5 separate regions of the Homo sapiens genome follow, and all the other regions are linked to region 1. The links are contacts of gene promoters, found by promoter capture Hi-C in blood cells and fetal thymus (Javierre and others, 2016). All regions are on one chromosome and are shown on one strand. The core of a region is centred on a gene start or on the middle of the fragment in contact, and the rest is flanking DNA. Distances in the headings are between cores, read along the strand shown.

What was found. The method cuts DNA at HindIII sites, captures the fragments that hold promoters and counts their contacts. A CHiCAGO score of 5 or more calls a contact.
Region 2: a contact is called between a fragment that was not itself captured here and the fragment with the promoter of KBTBD4 in region 1, in 2 of 17 cell types (fetal thymus and erythroblasts). The highest score is 6.9, in fetal thymus.
Region 3: the fragment with the promoter of LRP4 here is called in contact with the fragment with the promoter of KBTBD4 in region 1 in 1 of 17 cell types (naive CD8 T cells); the score reaches 5.5 in naive CD8 T cells.
Region 4: a fragment that was not itself captured here is called in contact with the fragment with the promoter of KBTBD4 in region 1 in 2 of 17 cell types (non-activated CD4 T cells and fetal thymus); the score reaches 5.7 in non-activated CD4 T cells.
Region 5: a contact is called between a fragment that was not itself captured here and the fragment with the promoter of KBTBD4 in region 1, in 1 of 17 cell types (naive B cells). The highest score is 6.4, in naive B cells.

What each region holds. Positions count from the first base shown.
Region 1 is chr11:47,577,720-47,580,642 of GRCh38, reverse strand. KBTBD4 (kelch repeat and BTB domain containing 4) reads left to right here and starts at 1,673. Exons shown (of 4, transcript NM_018095.6): 1 at 1,673-1,710; 2 at 2,615-2,923. The coding sequence starts at 1,692. NDUFS3 (NADH:ubiquinone oxidoreductase core subunit S3) reads right to left here and starts at 1,569. Exons shown (of 7, transcript NM_004551.3): 1 at 1,485-1,569; 2 at 1,309-1,374; 3 at 21-118. The coding sequence starts at 1,551. RefSeq lists a silencer at 1-54 and enhancers at 796-1,454, 1,523-1,762, 1,455-2,114. The HindIII fragment of the contact is 1,977 bases long and covers 1-1,888 here.
Region 2 is chr11:46,825,979-46,828,901 of GRCh38, reverse strand. The region is part of intron 1 of CKAP5 (cytoskeleton associated protein 5); the gene reads left to right. Among named protein-coding and RNA genes, the nearest start is that of CKAP5, 19 kb to the left of the region's middle. RefSeq lists enhancers at 1,614-2,164, 2,165-2,717. The HindIII fragment of the contact is 1,112 bases long and covers 833-1,944 here.
Region 3 is chr11:46,917,157-46,920,079 of GRCh38, reverse strand. LRP4 (LDL receptor related protein 4) reads left to right here and starts at 1,530. Exons shown (of 38, transcript NM_002334.4): 1 at 1,530-1,752. The coding sequence starts at 1,701. RefSeq lists enhancers at 1-106, 801-1,305, 2,469-2,923 and silencers at 1,366-1,595, 1,606-1,785, 1,796-1,965. The HindIII fragment of the contact is 10,743 bases long and covers 1-2,923 here.
Region 4 is chr11:46,940,138-46,943,060 of GRCh38, reverse strand. The region is part of intron 1 of CSTPP1 (centriolar satellite-associated tubulin polyglutamylase complex regulator 1); the gene reads right to left. Among named protein-coding and RNA genes, the nearest start is that of CSTPP1, 4.8 kb to the right of the region's middle. The HindIII fragment of the contact is 1,245 bases long and covers 760-2,004 here.
Region 5 is chr11:48,114,935-48,117,857 of GRCh38, reverse strand. The region is part of intron 3 of PTPRJ (protein tyrosine phosphatase receptor type J); the gene reads right to left. Among named protein-coding and RNA genes, the nearest start is that of MIR3161, 20 kb to the right of the region's middle. The HindIII fragment of the contact is 2,690 bases long and covers 38-2,727 here.

The DNA of each region.
Region 1 (2,923 bases), core at 424-2,923:
ATAACATTAGTAAGTATTACCTGAACTTGTTGGACATACTTGGGCAAGATTTCAGCCACATACTCTCCAAAAGCTGAGAGCTGCTTGTGGGCCACATCATTCCGTGGTCTGACAGTGGCTGGAAGGAAAAGGCATATTTAAAAAAGAAATGGAGAAGGCAAAAGCCAGCCCTGCATGCAGTCTCTTAGGCTTGTAAGGGATGTCAAATCCAGGAAAGGCTCCCTGAAGCACCTTGAGAAAGGTGCATGTGAAAGGTTTCCCTTCTAGGGAATACAGTGATGAAAACTTGGGGAAAGTGCCACCTTAACTACACGGTCCTCAGAAAGACTCTTACTATAGCAGCTGGGGTGTTCACCTCTTCTCAAAATTACTCCACAGTTCTTCCCTCACATTGCCTGCATTTCTGCTAAAGCAGTAGTCTCAGTTCTCCTGTCAGACTAAGAGCTGTTTGAGGATGGGAACTGAACTTTTGCCTCTCTGTAGCTCCTTAGCACGCAAGTTTATACCAGGTTCTCAAGCTAAGAACTTCAGGGCTTGAAGATCCCTCACAGACTCTCTCTCTCCTTAAAAGTGTGTGTGTGTGTGTGTGTCAATGAGAAAACTGAGGCCCAGGTGTGTGTGTGTGTGTGTGTGTGTGTGTGTGTGTGTGTGTGTGTGTCAATGAGAAAACCCAGGAAAGGAGAAATGCCAGGTCTCCTAACTCCCAGTCCGTGTATCTTGACTGTAACATAATATGTACATACTCATTCATGCAACCCTAAACCACTGAGCAATCACACATCACAAGCTACAGAATAATGGTTAGGTGTTTCTGCCTCTGGCAGCAGGCAGGCCTACTTTGTCATTCACTAGGTCTTTGACCCTGGGCAGTTTAATTCTTTGGACTGTTTCCTGATCTATAGTAAGAAGAGTAAGATGCTATCTACCCCATAAGGCTGTTGTGAGGACGAAATAAGATCATTCACTAAAACGCTTAGCGAGGTTCCAGGCACACATTAAGCACTCAATTAACGCTAGGTACTATTATTACAGGGCTCTGAGGCCTAAAGGTTATATTGCTTGCTTTCAAAGAGCTGACAGTTTAATCAGACAAAAAGGGGATGATTGAAATGGACAAGGAACAATCAGGGCCATAACAGGCCTAAGGGCACAGGGAGGGCTCGATTCTGCATGCAGGGTGAAGACCACTGCAAGTCAGATCTCCAAGATTTGCCAGGAGGACGTAGGGAAGGGCATCCTAGGGCAAGGACAGGCATCTAAGGGGCCCCGCCGATAGTTCAGAGAAGAGCGCTGCCCGCACATACTCACGGCGCGTGTCGGCCCCGGCGCTCTCCCGCCTCACCGGCAGCAACAGAACGGAGGGTCGCCCAGTCCCTGCACAGGGAGATAAAAGGCACAGACGCGCGGGATGAGCCCTGAGGAGCTCTCTGCACTGGGCACGCCGCTGCGCCTGACCCCGGTCTCAGCTGGCTGCCCGTGCTCACCCCTGGTCAGCGCCGAGGCCCCCAAGATCCCGCGCCACCACAGCCTGGCTACCGCCGCCGCCGCCATGTTACTCAGATGCAGACTAGGCAGCGGACGGAAAGACAGCAGGACACGGAGCCCCAAGGGCACGGACCGGAAACGGAAGTGTGCAGCAGATCTTCTTCCGGGCGGACGTGGAGCCGGAAGCGGAGGTTCCGGGCTCCGGGATGAAAGGAGGGAACGCAGGTGAGAAAGCGAGACAGGCAGGTAGGGAAATCGTGAGGTGAGCGTGGTCCTAGCTCCTTGTGGCAGAGCCTAGAGAGAAGGCGAGGACGCTGAAGAACCAGGCGGGTGAGAGGAGGGGAGGGGGCGGGCGTTTTGGGTTCTACGCTACACACCCCTCCCCCGCTCTCTGAGCCAAGCTTTTGACGAGGGCGGGCGGGCCTGAGCGGGAAGAACGGTTTCCCTGGCGACCGTTTCCAAGACGACTCAAGGTGGAGCGGGGACATTGCACAGGGTGATGGGCCTCCCAGTGCCCCGGCCTGGGGGCGGATGGACTCAAGTTCTGGGACGCAGCCATAGGGAGTCTTTCGAGCGAGCGGGGAAGTGTGGGGGAAGCAGCTCAGAAGAGAGCAAATGTAAGACCCACGGATATCCCAGGCTAGGCTTCATATGGAGCGTCTTAACTCCATGCGCTGGGAAGGAGAGGACCTGGCCACTAGGCCGGGGCCAGGGGTCCTTTTTGTCTGATTCTACTGCCCCTGAGCTTCACTAGTTTTATGCCCCAGTTATTTGGTTAGTAAGGCTTTTACGATCACAGGCCTCTCCCAGCCCTTTGCTTTCATATATTGACCTAAATCCCAAGTCTTTTGTTAACATTATGGAAAGGAATTATTCCGTGTTTTCTCAGGAAAACACCCAGAGTTGGAACTTTTATTTATATCATTAGCGGAGGGGCGCCACTGGGGATAACGAACCCAGATTTGGTTAAAGGATAGCGTCAGGGACATCATGGACAGGGCCAGGACTAAGGCCAATCTGGACCCACTTTGCTCTCACTTCTTCCTTTTCCCTCCCTGAGTTGGACAGTTGGATTCACAGACTATGGCTGTGAATTCCTCAGGTTACTCAAGATGGTGTTGCTTTGCAGACAGCTGGCAGAGAGAGAAGTTGGCTAGCATGGAATCACCAGAGGAGCCTGGAGCATCCATGGATGAGAACTACTTTGTGAACTACACTTTCAAAGATCGGTCACATTCAGGCCGTGTGGCTCAAGGCATCATGAAACTGTGTCTAGAGGAGGAGCTCTTTGCTGATGTCACCATTTCGGTGGAAGGCCGGGAGTTTCAGCTCCATCGGCTGGTCCTCTCAGCTCAGAGCTGCTTCTTCCGATCCATGTTCACTTCCAACCTGAAGGAGGCCCACAACCGGGTGATTGTGCTGCAGGATGTCAGCGAGT
Region 2 (2,923 bases), core at 139-2,638, 750 kb after region 1:
CTGTATCTAAATATTTCTCTTATCCCCCTCCCAAGCCACACCCCCACCCCATCTTTGGTTACTACCATTCTACTTTCTGGTTCTATGAATTCATGAATTTGACTGCATACCTCATAAAAGTGGGTTCATACAGTATTTGACTTTTTTTGTGACTGTTAGTAGATTTTTTTCTCTAATTTTTAAAATGTTTAATTCGCTCATAAGCACAGCACAGGGTATTATCCATTTGTGTGTGCATACACACATACACTCATTGTACTATGTTTATTGCAGTTAACTGAAGTCCTATGTCACTAGAATGCTATGTAACAGAAAATGTTGGTCATACCTCTTGTGATAAATATTTGTTGGGTACTTATTTTGTATCACACATTGGAAGAAAAAGATAATTAAGATACATTCCAGCCCTTGCCCTTGAGGAACTCACAATCTGATGAGAAAGGCTGATCTGCAAACCATTACCCTCAGAACAGTTAAGCTTGATGGGAATATAATGAATGAAGGTCTTAATTACCTAATTCAGAGGTATTCTTTACAGTTAAATGCATTGTAGAATGAGACTGTCTTGGCAGTTCAAAAATCAGACTGTTTTAATCTGAATCCATTTTTTACTTGGCAACTTTATTTATTTATCTACCCCGCCCCCACCCAAGTAAGGAAAAGATACTTGGCAACTTTAGCTTAGGGTTCTCTAAAACCTTCAGAATAAGAGTAACCTGAGTCTGCTCCCTGGTGGAGCAATCTTCATAACTGTTCTTTGGATTCTTAAATTTCTGCTTTATTCCTGTTGTGGATAGGAGAAATTGGGTTACTTACAAATGGTCTTTAAGCTTACTACATTGATTCCTGTACTGATCTGATGATGGCCCAAGGCTTTAAGGAGGTGTGTTGATTCATCTAAATTAGGTGGAGTAATATGGACTTAAAAAAAGCACATATCTTTCCTGTTGGTATGATGGGAGACACAAAATGCAGTCAAACCTTGTAAACTAGGATTCAGGACAAACTCCTCCTACAAAAAGAAAATTAAAACTAGTTGCTAACCTTTGGAGATCTCAGAGACTAGGACTTAACTCCTTGAAATATTAATGCCGTTTCTACTACAATTTTCTTAAGAACTCTTCATATTAAATTAGATGATTGCACATTACAATTGTATTGGCATGCAAGATTACTTACATAGACTTGTACATTTATTTACGTTGACTTTTAGGTCAATTTTTGAAAGATCACATTTTACACACAAGATGGGGAAGGTTATTTTTCTTTTTTTCTTTTATAGAGGTATGGTTTTGGTTAGTTGTTCAGGGTGGAGTGCTGTGGTGCAGTCTGGCTCACTGCAGCCTAGTCCTGGGCTCAGGATCCTCCCACCTCAGCCTCCGGAGTAGCTGGGACTAGTCTTGTACCACCATGCCCAGCTAATTTTTTATTTTTTGTAGAGATGGGGTCTCACTTTGTTGCCCAGGCTGGTATTTTTCTATTTCACCTTCTATTACCTTCCTGCCCATCTTGTATCATTGTCCAGGATTCCTCCAGTTTTGTAAAGAACGAATTCCGTGAAAAGGTGAGGTGGAGCATTGTAGGATCTTTTCCAGGCCTTTGAGTTGCCATTTGAAGAACTGCTCGAGTCCAAAGGAGGTTAATGAAGTAAGCAGCTTACATATAATGAGGGGCTATGTATCTACCTTGATGCTTTGGCTGTTACCTGCAGTAATTTTTTTCACCCTTGGAGGAGGGATTAGGATTGTGATAGTGGGAACTGGTCATCTCCTTTGTTTCTGGAATATTACGTGTAATACTACCAAAAAAAGAGGTCCACCCAACTGCAGTAGTCTTCCTAGTTGGTCCATCATTTGCCTCTTGCCTGGGAAAGCCTAGGACCTAGAAGCAGCGCCTGAGGCCTGCAAACCTCTGGGCGAAGATACACTGCGGCCCCTTTAAGCTTTCAGAGTGTGCGGAGAGGGGAGCTGAGGGTGGGGCGGGCACTCTGACAGTGGCGCTCCGGGCCCCGCCCTCGGAGGAGGCGTTTCCCAGCGGACCGCAGCACCAATGCTGCTGCCGCCGCCGCCGCCGCCTGCCGGGTATTCCTGCTGATCCTGCTCGGACCTTAGCTTCCCTGACCTCTCCCTGCCCGGGGAGCGTAAGTGTCAAACCACGGGCAAAGGGCAAGCATCCCGCGACCGTGCTGCAAGTCCTGGTGGACAGTACTGGGGACTTTGCTGGCCTATCAGAGGCTAAGGCGGCGAAAGAGCGTAAACAATGCCGGCTCCAGTGAGCTAAAGCCAGGGTATCTGCTCTACTTCTGGGTGGTGACAGCAGCCGTAGGGTGCTTGTTTGGGCATGCAGTGGGTGAGCAGTGCCCACGACCTGGCTTTGCCCCCACCTGGTTCTTACTTGGGGTGAGGAGAGGGTTGCTTTTACCAGAGTATAACCCATTTGAGCTGAATGGGTGGAGCTGAATCTCTCTCTCTGGGCCTTGGATCCTTACCCTGGTATTTGAAGACCTTGGTAGCTTTGGGATGAGTAAGCATTAGGTTTTCAGCTACCTTGGTACAGTCGAGCAGTAACTCCAAGTTGTCCTAATTCACAGCCAGGTTTAGCTGTCTCTCCAGAGGCCTGTGTTGGTGGTATCCCGTACCCCTTTTGGATATGTTGACAGTGAACATCTCTTAGGAAGAGTCCAGTTAACCTTTCCTCCTGATATAAAGAGCACAATGTGAAAGAGACAGCTCTTTACCCCTCTCCATCTCTGAAGGAATTTGTGGGACGCCACTGTCCCAAGATTAGGAAAGCAAACACACCAAAGTTTGAGATAATCTGCTAGAAAACTGTTCAGATTTCTGGCCGCCTGGTAATGCAGAATACTCCGGCAAGAGGATAACACTTGTCCTTGTTAATGGGAAATACCTGGAGACAGTGAGTT
Region 3 (2,923 bases), core at 281-2,780, 660 kb after region 1:
GATCATGTAAGCCTGACCTGACGCTACTGCCGCCTTCAGTCAGCAAGAAGAACTACACACCCAGAAAATGCTTCAGTAATAGTTACCATGGTGATGCTAGTTCAACCACATTGCATCTGGATAAAAATTTCAGGCAAAACGATATAGAAAACTACTGCCTAACAAGGAGTTAACACCTTACATCTTTTATGTTGTTGTTGTTGCTGTCGCAAAGTATGGTTCATGTTAGCTTTGGTAAAAGATGGTAATTTGAAGTGAAAGTACTGAAAAAAACAAGCAAGGATGAAATGTCAATGTATCCATTTAGAGAAATCTAATAACCACTTTGCACTATGCCAAATTACTTTCCCCTCAGCTAACAGGGGGCATTTGGGTCTTCCTGACTCTATTTACTGGTGAGGAAAGTGAGTTAATGAAATCCATAGATGATCCAAGCCCAAGAAATGCTGGCATATCAGCTGGGAGGGAAAAAAGCGATATACTGGGCCATCAGAAAGTTGGGCATTTGGGCAAAAGGAACAAAACAAGATTCAACCTGGAAAAATGGAAGGTGGTGAAATTAATCCGTATTATTAATATGCATTAGGGAGAGTAGACCACAAAAGGAAGGAAGACTAGAGACAAGTTTATGATTTTATGCAGTAAATCAAAAGTTAAATCTGAGGGAAGGACCTACAGACTGGGGCTGGAAGGAGGCTGAGGGCTTTGTGGGAGTGCAGCTGCCCATGAGGACTCCTTTCCTGACCCCCTCCCTTCCTTGTCAGGATCAGAAAGTCAAAGAAGGTGAAGAGGCTAACAACAGTGATTTACAAAGACAGCAAGGAGGAACTAAGTCTGTATGGGCCGAATCTGGGCCTCTGAGCTGGAGCAACAGGACCCAGACAACCATCTCAGGAAATGAGTGAATGAAAAGGGGCGGGGGGGTCGGTGAATTATTTAGCCCTAGAACAACGCTGCCTAGACCGGGGGAGGCCAGGGAGAAGAAAATCTCCGAAAAGGAATTTTGACAGTGAGAACGCCAGTTAAGATACAGCACTCCAGGCCCCCTGATGTCCCTTGTTTGATGTCAATAAAGACCCAAGAGGATTATGCATCCACAAGCCTTGCGTATTCGCAGACATCAAAAAAGTCTGGACTTGGGGCCGGTAGGCGGGGGCAGGGTCACGTCCAGGCGACTTGGGTCAGCTCAGGTGCTCGTCTGAAGCATAGAGCTGGAGTGAGCGGGGGCGAGACTTGCTGCTAGGATAATTTTTTTTTTTTAAGTTAGGGAAATTTAAGCAGTAGTAATAGCGACAGGGAGGGGGCTCTCTCTCGGGCCAGGAATGTGGGGGCGGCCTGAGGAGGAGCGGGGCCCCGCGCAGGAGGCGCCGGCGGGTGGGGTCGGGGGACCAGGGAGCCGGGGCCGAGGGCGGGAAGGGGCCGGGCCGGCGCTGGGGGCGGGCCCAGGCGCGGTGGCGGTGGCCGGGGCTGCGGCGCGGGGGGCGGGGCGGTCGGGCCCGGGACACCCCCTCCCGGTCCCCTGGCGGGGCAGCGTCGGCTCTGGCAGCACTGGAGGCGGCGGCGGCCCGAGGGCGACTTGCGGGGCGCGCAGGCCGCCGTGCACCCGGGACGCTTCCCCCTCGGGGACCCTCCGCGGGCTTCTCCGCCGCGCCGTCCGGCGGGAGCCGGCGGGACCCCGGGCGAGCGGCGCGGGCGGCACCATGAGGCGGCAGTGGGGCGCGCTGCTGCTTGGCGCCCTGCTCTGCGCACACGGTAAGCGGCGCCCGCCGGGAAAGTTTGTCCCTGGGTCCGGCCGCTGCAGGACTCGCCTCCCGGGACCTGGACGGCGCGGGCCGGGGCCTGAGACCCCTCGCCCTCGCTCCTAGCCGTGGCCCTGGGGCTGCGTGCAGGGGAGAGGACCCGGAGCGGCCCCGGCTCCAGCAGTCCGAGCGGGGGCATCAGCGGAGGCGCTTCCGCGGGTTCGGGTCTGGGCCGGGGCGCGGGTCTGGGCCGGGGCGCGGGTAAGGTCCGGGGCGTTCGTTCGCTCGCCCTCCCTCGCTGCTCTTTCAAGAGCGGGGGCTGCTTCCCTTTCAGGTTAGGTCGGGGGCTCTGTGTCCTTGGTGCGAATGAATGCGTGCGAAGAAAGGGAGGCGGGTGAGGAGGGTCGCTAAACCCATAAATTGTAAATAGCCCTCCTTCCTGGGGCTGGGGGCTCGGGCGGGTTGCGGAGAGAGGCCCCGGTAGAATCTGGTACTTGGGCACCGGGATTCCTCTACTCGGAGAACGATTCCCGGACTCCAGGTCTTGCTCCCACCAAGGGGCTCTGGGGCACTGTTTGCGGGCAGCATCTCCCCTCGGCGGTGTTTCGGGGTCCCTCTCTTGGCTGCGGCCAGTCAGCTTCCAGCCCTGGATCGTCCTAAAGGGAGGTGGTTGGAAAGGGGGCTGAGGAGGAATATAGGGAAGAAACTGCTGGAAGGCTCCCGCAGATCTGCCCTGGCTGGGGTAGGGGGGCAGGGGGCCGGTAACCCTGAACCCCAGAAGGCAGCCGCCGGGCCCTCGCGGCAGGGTCCCAGCCCTCGGGGGAGCTGGACGGCTGCAGCAGGACTCCTTGGTGCCCGTACCCCCTGTTGTGTGGGACTAGGGCTCCGATGGAATCTGCTTCTCCGCGGGCTCTTAACGACCCTGGGTGCACCCCGTGATTGAGCAGCTTTCCCTAGTTTGTGCCCAGAGATCAAAGAACTTTGATCTTTGAACCCCAGCCCTATTCACCCATCGCTATTCATCGTGGCGGGAGTTCCGAGTCTCCCCATTTGCCTCGCAGCCCCGATGAAGGGAGCTGGGGCTCAGAATGGAGGGGTCTGGAGACCCTGCCTGGTCTTTTACCGGTTCTTTCTTTCACGTAGGACAGCTCGTGTGGAAAAAGTCAGTGCAGATTTCCGAACTT
Region 4 (2,923 bases), core at 133-2,632, 640 kb after region 1:
CAATGATAGAAGGTTGACAATGATGAGTAAAACACAATTCTTGTTCCCAAGAAATTTATTTGCAAGAGCCTCATCCTTAATAAGGAAGCAAGAATTACTGCCCTTTGAACCAATAGGGGTTTTTTGGTTTGTTTTTATCTTTTTAGTGAAGAGGAAAAAACACAAGCTGTGGAATATGACAAACCTGGGTATGAACCCCTGTTTACTATGCATCATTGCCTGTGTGACCTTGTGCAAATCAATTAGCCTTTCTAAGCCTCAGCTTCCTTATTTATAAAATGAGAAGATGATATTAATAACTACTAATTGGGACCAGTAAGAGTACCCACTTCATATGGTAGTTGTGAAAATTAAATGAGATAAACCACAGTGCCAGGCATATAGGAAGAGTTCAAAAACTATAGCTTAAAAAAAAAACTACCCAATTTATTGTGATTCTTCTAAATGTCTAGTCCCCAAAGGAGAAAGGCCATCTTTGATTTCTAGAGTTATCTATTATACTAACCCACTATCAACCGTAGTGAGAATAAGCAGGTTCCATGGAAAAGAAGAGGCAACTTGGAGCGTGAGTGAAAGCATGCACCTCACCAAATTAGGTGGAGTAAAAAATAAACCTCACGCCCTCATGCTTATACTCAGGTCAGCACGTAGGTGGTATGTTTGGCAAACCTGGGACCAGAACAGGCTGCCCTTTGGCTCTAGAGAGCTCGCCACACCCAACCAGATACACAGACACACCTTCAGCCTCTGGCAGAAGCTTCCACTAAGTAGGTTTCATAAGGCTGGAAACCTTTTGCGGGTCCTACAGAGAGGGTCTATACTTATTTCATCTCCTTACCAGACTCTCCTTTCTCTCTTCAGGCCTAGGCATTAACACAATTTTTATCACTACATTCTGATGACTGCAGACATGAACATCACTAAGCTATTCTTTAGTGATGATCTTAAGATCTTAAGCCATGCAAGGCCATGATTACAGGTTCCTAATCTACAAAGTCAGTGGGGAAAGGATCAGTTTACCCAACATGATAAAAGATTGATTTCTTCACTAATAGTCAGAAAGGTAAATACAATCCCTAGCTAGCAGGGAGAAAGGGATATCTCTAGATATTCTTTGGATAGGTATCCCTGTAATTTACACCATAATCCTAAAGAGAGGTCTCCAGATACACTAACCAAGGGGAACTCAACTTTAGCTTTTGGGTTTCACTGAATGCCTAGGGCTTTCCAGTCTGCAGTTTTGTTTTCTCTATAAGTATAGTCTTCTTTAGGCTTACACATACAAGTAACTTTATAATGTATAAAAATAAAAACAAATGGAAAAATCACAGGTATTTAAAAATTTAAATCAGGAAATATTTTATTAATCTATTCTGTAGGGAGTGGTTTTAAACGGTCATTAGATTGAGGGTGAATAGGTTGGCCAGGCGTGGTGGCTCACACCTGTAATCCCAGCACTTTGGGAGGCTAAGGTGGGTGGATCACCTGAGGTCAGGAGTTCGAGACCAGCCTGGCAAACATGGTGAAACTCTGTCTCTACTAAAAATACAAAAATTAGCTGGGCATGGTGGCAGGTGCCTGTAATCCCAGCTACTTGGGAGGCTGAGACACGAGAATCACTTGAACCCTGGAGGCGGAGGTTGGAGTGAGCCAAGATCACATCATTGCACTCCAGCCTGGGTGACAGAGCGAGACTCCGTCTCAAGAAAAAAGAAAAAAAAAATTGAGGGTGAATAGGTCAAAGCAGCATGCCTCTAAGAGAGACAAATTGTAAAAGGCAGGGATAGTTCTCAACTAAAGACAAACGCATTTCAGCAGAGTGATACGGTTTGATGAACCAGGAGAAGGCAGTGAGGGGTGTGACCATGCTGAGGGCAGTATGAATGTCTAGTTAGTGGTTAGGACAAGGAATTAAGACACTTAAATATGCAACAAAGCATGAAGAAGCATTTGTATAGGATTCAATTATTAGGTGATTGGTTGGGCTTCACAAACATTGAAGCTTTTTCAACCAACCTGAGACTCTGATTCTGTTTGTAGATTCATTCTCAACACTGCCACTGAATTGGCCTTCCTGAAAACGCCATTTATGAAGAGACCACCAACTTCTATTCACCAAGGCACCAATACACCAAATCTGCCAAGCCTTTGAGACATAAAATTCAAACAGCAAACACCCAAGGAACTGAACAATGAACTAGCCTTTTCAAATATTTCATATATTCATTGAGTACTGGGTAATAAAATACATAAAATCTTTGGAAAAAAGTCTAGGCATTGCTTGACATTGATACTGTTATTCATTAGATACAAAATTGTCTGTGATATCCCCTTTTAGCTGATTAATGGATGTGGTCACTGTCTTAAGCTCTCTCTCTATATATATGTCTATATATATGTTCATGTATATATGTGTATATATATAGCTTTCAAAGACCAATCAGCCCTTAAACTTGGTAAAAAGGCACTCAACTTCATTTAAAAATGCATATTAAATCTACTCAGACTATCTGTCACTTAGATTGAAAAAAATCCAAGTTTGATGTATTTTGTTGTCAGCACAATGGGGAAACAGGCATTCTCTTTCATTGCTGGTGGCAAAATGGTACAACACCTATTAAGGGCAATCTGACAATATCTATAAGTACTTCAATGCATATGCCCTTAATCCACCAATTCCACTTTGTGGAACTTATTCTTGCAGATACACTTGCAAAGGAACAAAACTGCAGGTTATTCATTGCAGCATTCTTAGTAACAGCAAAAGGCTAAAAACAACTTGTTTACCAGTGCGGGACTGGTTAAATAAATTATTTAAATACTATATAGCTAAAAATGAATTTCATGAAGAACGAAGAAGCTCCCTACTGACTGAGAAATTACTTCGAGGCCAGGCGCAGTGGCTCACGCCTATAATCCCAGG
Region 5 (2,923 bases), core at 133-2,632, 540 kb before region 1:
TGAGTAGCGTCTCTTTTTTCTTAGTCTAGCTAAAGCTTTGTCAATGTTCTTTGTTTTCAAAAAAACAACTTAGTTTATTGATCTTTTCTATTGTTTTTCTAGTGCCTATTTCATTTATTTCAGCTTTGACCTTTATTATTTTGTTCCTTTTACTAATTTGAAGATTAGTTTGTTCTTATTTTTCTAGTTCCTTAACGTGCTACATTAGGTTATTTACTTGAGGGTTTTGTTTTGTTTTTTTCAGACAGGCTCTCAAAACCCAGGCTGGAGGTATGAGCTTGCTTTTTTTTTTTTTTTTTTTTTTTTTTTTTTTTTTTGAGACAGAATCTTGCTCTGTTGCCCAGGCTGGAGTGCAGTGGTGCGATCTCGGCTCACTGCAATCTCTGCCCTCTGGGTTCAAGCAATTCTCCTGCCTCAGCCTTCCTAGTAGCTGGGATTACAGGTGTGTGTCACTACACCCAGCTAATTTTTGTATTTTTAGTAGAGACGGGGTTTCACCATGTTGGCCAGGCTGGTCTCGAACTCCTGACCTCAAGTGATCCGCCCATCTCGGCCTCCCAAAGTTCTGGGATTACAGGCACGAGCCACTGTGCCCAGGGAGCTTTCTTTTTTGATGTAGGAGTTTATTGCTGTCAACTTTCTTGGAAGGGCTGCTTTTGGTGTATCCCATAGGCTTTAGTATATTGTGTTTCCATTTTCATTTGCTTCAAGAAATTTTTAAATGTCCCTTTTAATTTCTTCACTGACCCATTGATTGTTCAGGGGCATTTGTGACAAAACAATTAACAATAGTTACTGTGGGAGATGGCAAGATCAGCATGACCCCTGCTGGGGACCTGCTGTAAGTGACCTGGGGACAGATCCTATACCAGGGGCTGTACAAGCATTTTCTAATTTATGTCTCACAGCAATTTCATGAAGGAGGTTATGGCACCATTTTAAAGAAGAAAAAGAAATATGTTAACAAAATTGCTTAAGAAGTGATGTTTGTCTCAAGATATTTTTTAGTTTCCCTTTTAATTTCATCATCAACCCATTAGTTATTCAGGAGCATGTTGTTTAATTTCCATATATCTGTGAATTTTCTTAAGTTCCTCCTGTTATTTATTTCTAGTTTGATGCCATCATCAGAAAAGATACTTGATATGATTTCACACTTCTTAAATCTGTTAACACTTGTTTTGTGGTCTAACATATGATCTACCTGGAGAATGTTCCAGGTGCAGTTGAAAAGTGTGTATTCTACAGCTGTTGGATGGAATGTTCTGTATATGTCTGATACATCCATTTGGTCTAAACTGTAGTTTAAGTCTGATGCTTCCTTATTGATTTCCTGTCTGGATCATTGTCCATTGCTGGAAGTAAGGTGGTGGAAGTCCTCTACTATGAATGCATTGCAGTCAATCTGTCCATTCAGATCCATTAATATTTGCTTTATATATTTAGGCATTCCAATGCTGGGTGCATATATATTTATAATTGTTAAGACCTCTTGATGAATTGATCCCTTTATCATTATAAAATGATGTTTGTTGTCTCCATTAAAAGTTTTGAACTTAAAGTCTATTTTATCTGACATAAGTATAGCTACTCCTGCCACTCTTTAGATTTCCATTAGCATGGAGTATCTTTTTCCATCCCTTCACTTTCAGTCTAGGCATGTCCTTGCAGGTGAGGTGAGTCTCTTGTAGACAGCATACTATTGAGATCGGTTTTTTTTTTTAACCCATTCACGCACTCTATGTCTTTTGATTGGAGAATTTAAACCCTTTACTTTCAAGGTTATTATTGATAGGTAAGAACTTACTACTGCCATTTGGTTGTTTTATAGACTCTTTGTTCCTTCCGTCCTCTCTTACTATCTTCCTTTGAGGTTAAGTGATATTCTCTAGTAGTATGTTTTGATTCCTTGCTTTTTATTTTTTGTGTATCTACTAAAGGTTCTTCTTTGTGGTTACCATGAGGCTTATAAAAAGAATCTTATAGTTATAACAGGTTATTTTATGCTGATGACAACTTTGATCACACACACAAATTGACCTCTACACTTCTAGTCCATTCCCCACTCATATTATGAATTGTTTATGTCACCATTTACATCTTTTTATATTGCATATCCCCCCTGCAAGTTATTGTAGTTATTATTTTTTAAGTATTATCTTTTAACTTTCATATTAAAGATATGTATGACCATTACAGTATTCATGTATTCTGAATTTGACTGTGTATTTATTTTACTAGTCTTATCCTTTCATATGTTTTCAATTAATCACTAGTGTCCTTTTCTTTCAGCTTAAAAACTCTCTTTAGCATTTCTTATAAGACATGTCTAGTGGTGATGAACTCCCTCAGCTTTTGTTTCTCTGGTAAAGTCTTTTATCTTGCCTTCATTTTTGATGGCCAGTTCTGCTGGGTATAGCAATCTTGGTTGGCAGGTTGTTTTCCCTCAGCATGGTGAATATATCATCCCACTCTCTCCTGGCCTGTAAGTTTCTGCTGAGAAGTCTGCTGCTAGCTGAAGTGGAGCTCCCTTACATGTTATTTGCTTCTTTTCTCTTTTTGCTTTCCAAATCCCCATTGTCTGTGATGTTTGACAGTGTGATTATGTTCTGGAGTAGTCTTGTTTGAATTGACTCTGATTGGAGTCATTTGTCCTTCCTGTACCTGGATATTTATATCTTTCTCCAGGTTTGGAGAGTTTTCTGCTACTATTTCTTTAAATAAGCTTTCTACCTCTTTATCTTTCTCTTCCCCTAGATGAACTCCAATTCAAATACCACGTCTTTTGATGCTGTTGCATAAATCCTATAGGCATTCTTCATTCCTTTTTATCCACTTTTTTATTTTTCCTCCTCTGTATATTTTCAAATAATCTGTCTTCAAGTTCAAGGATTATTTCTTCTACTTGATCAGTTCTACTCTT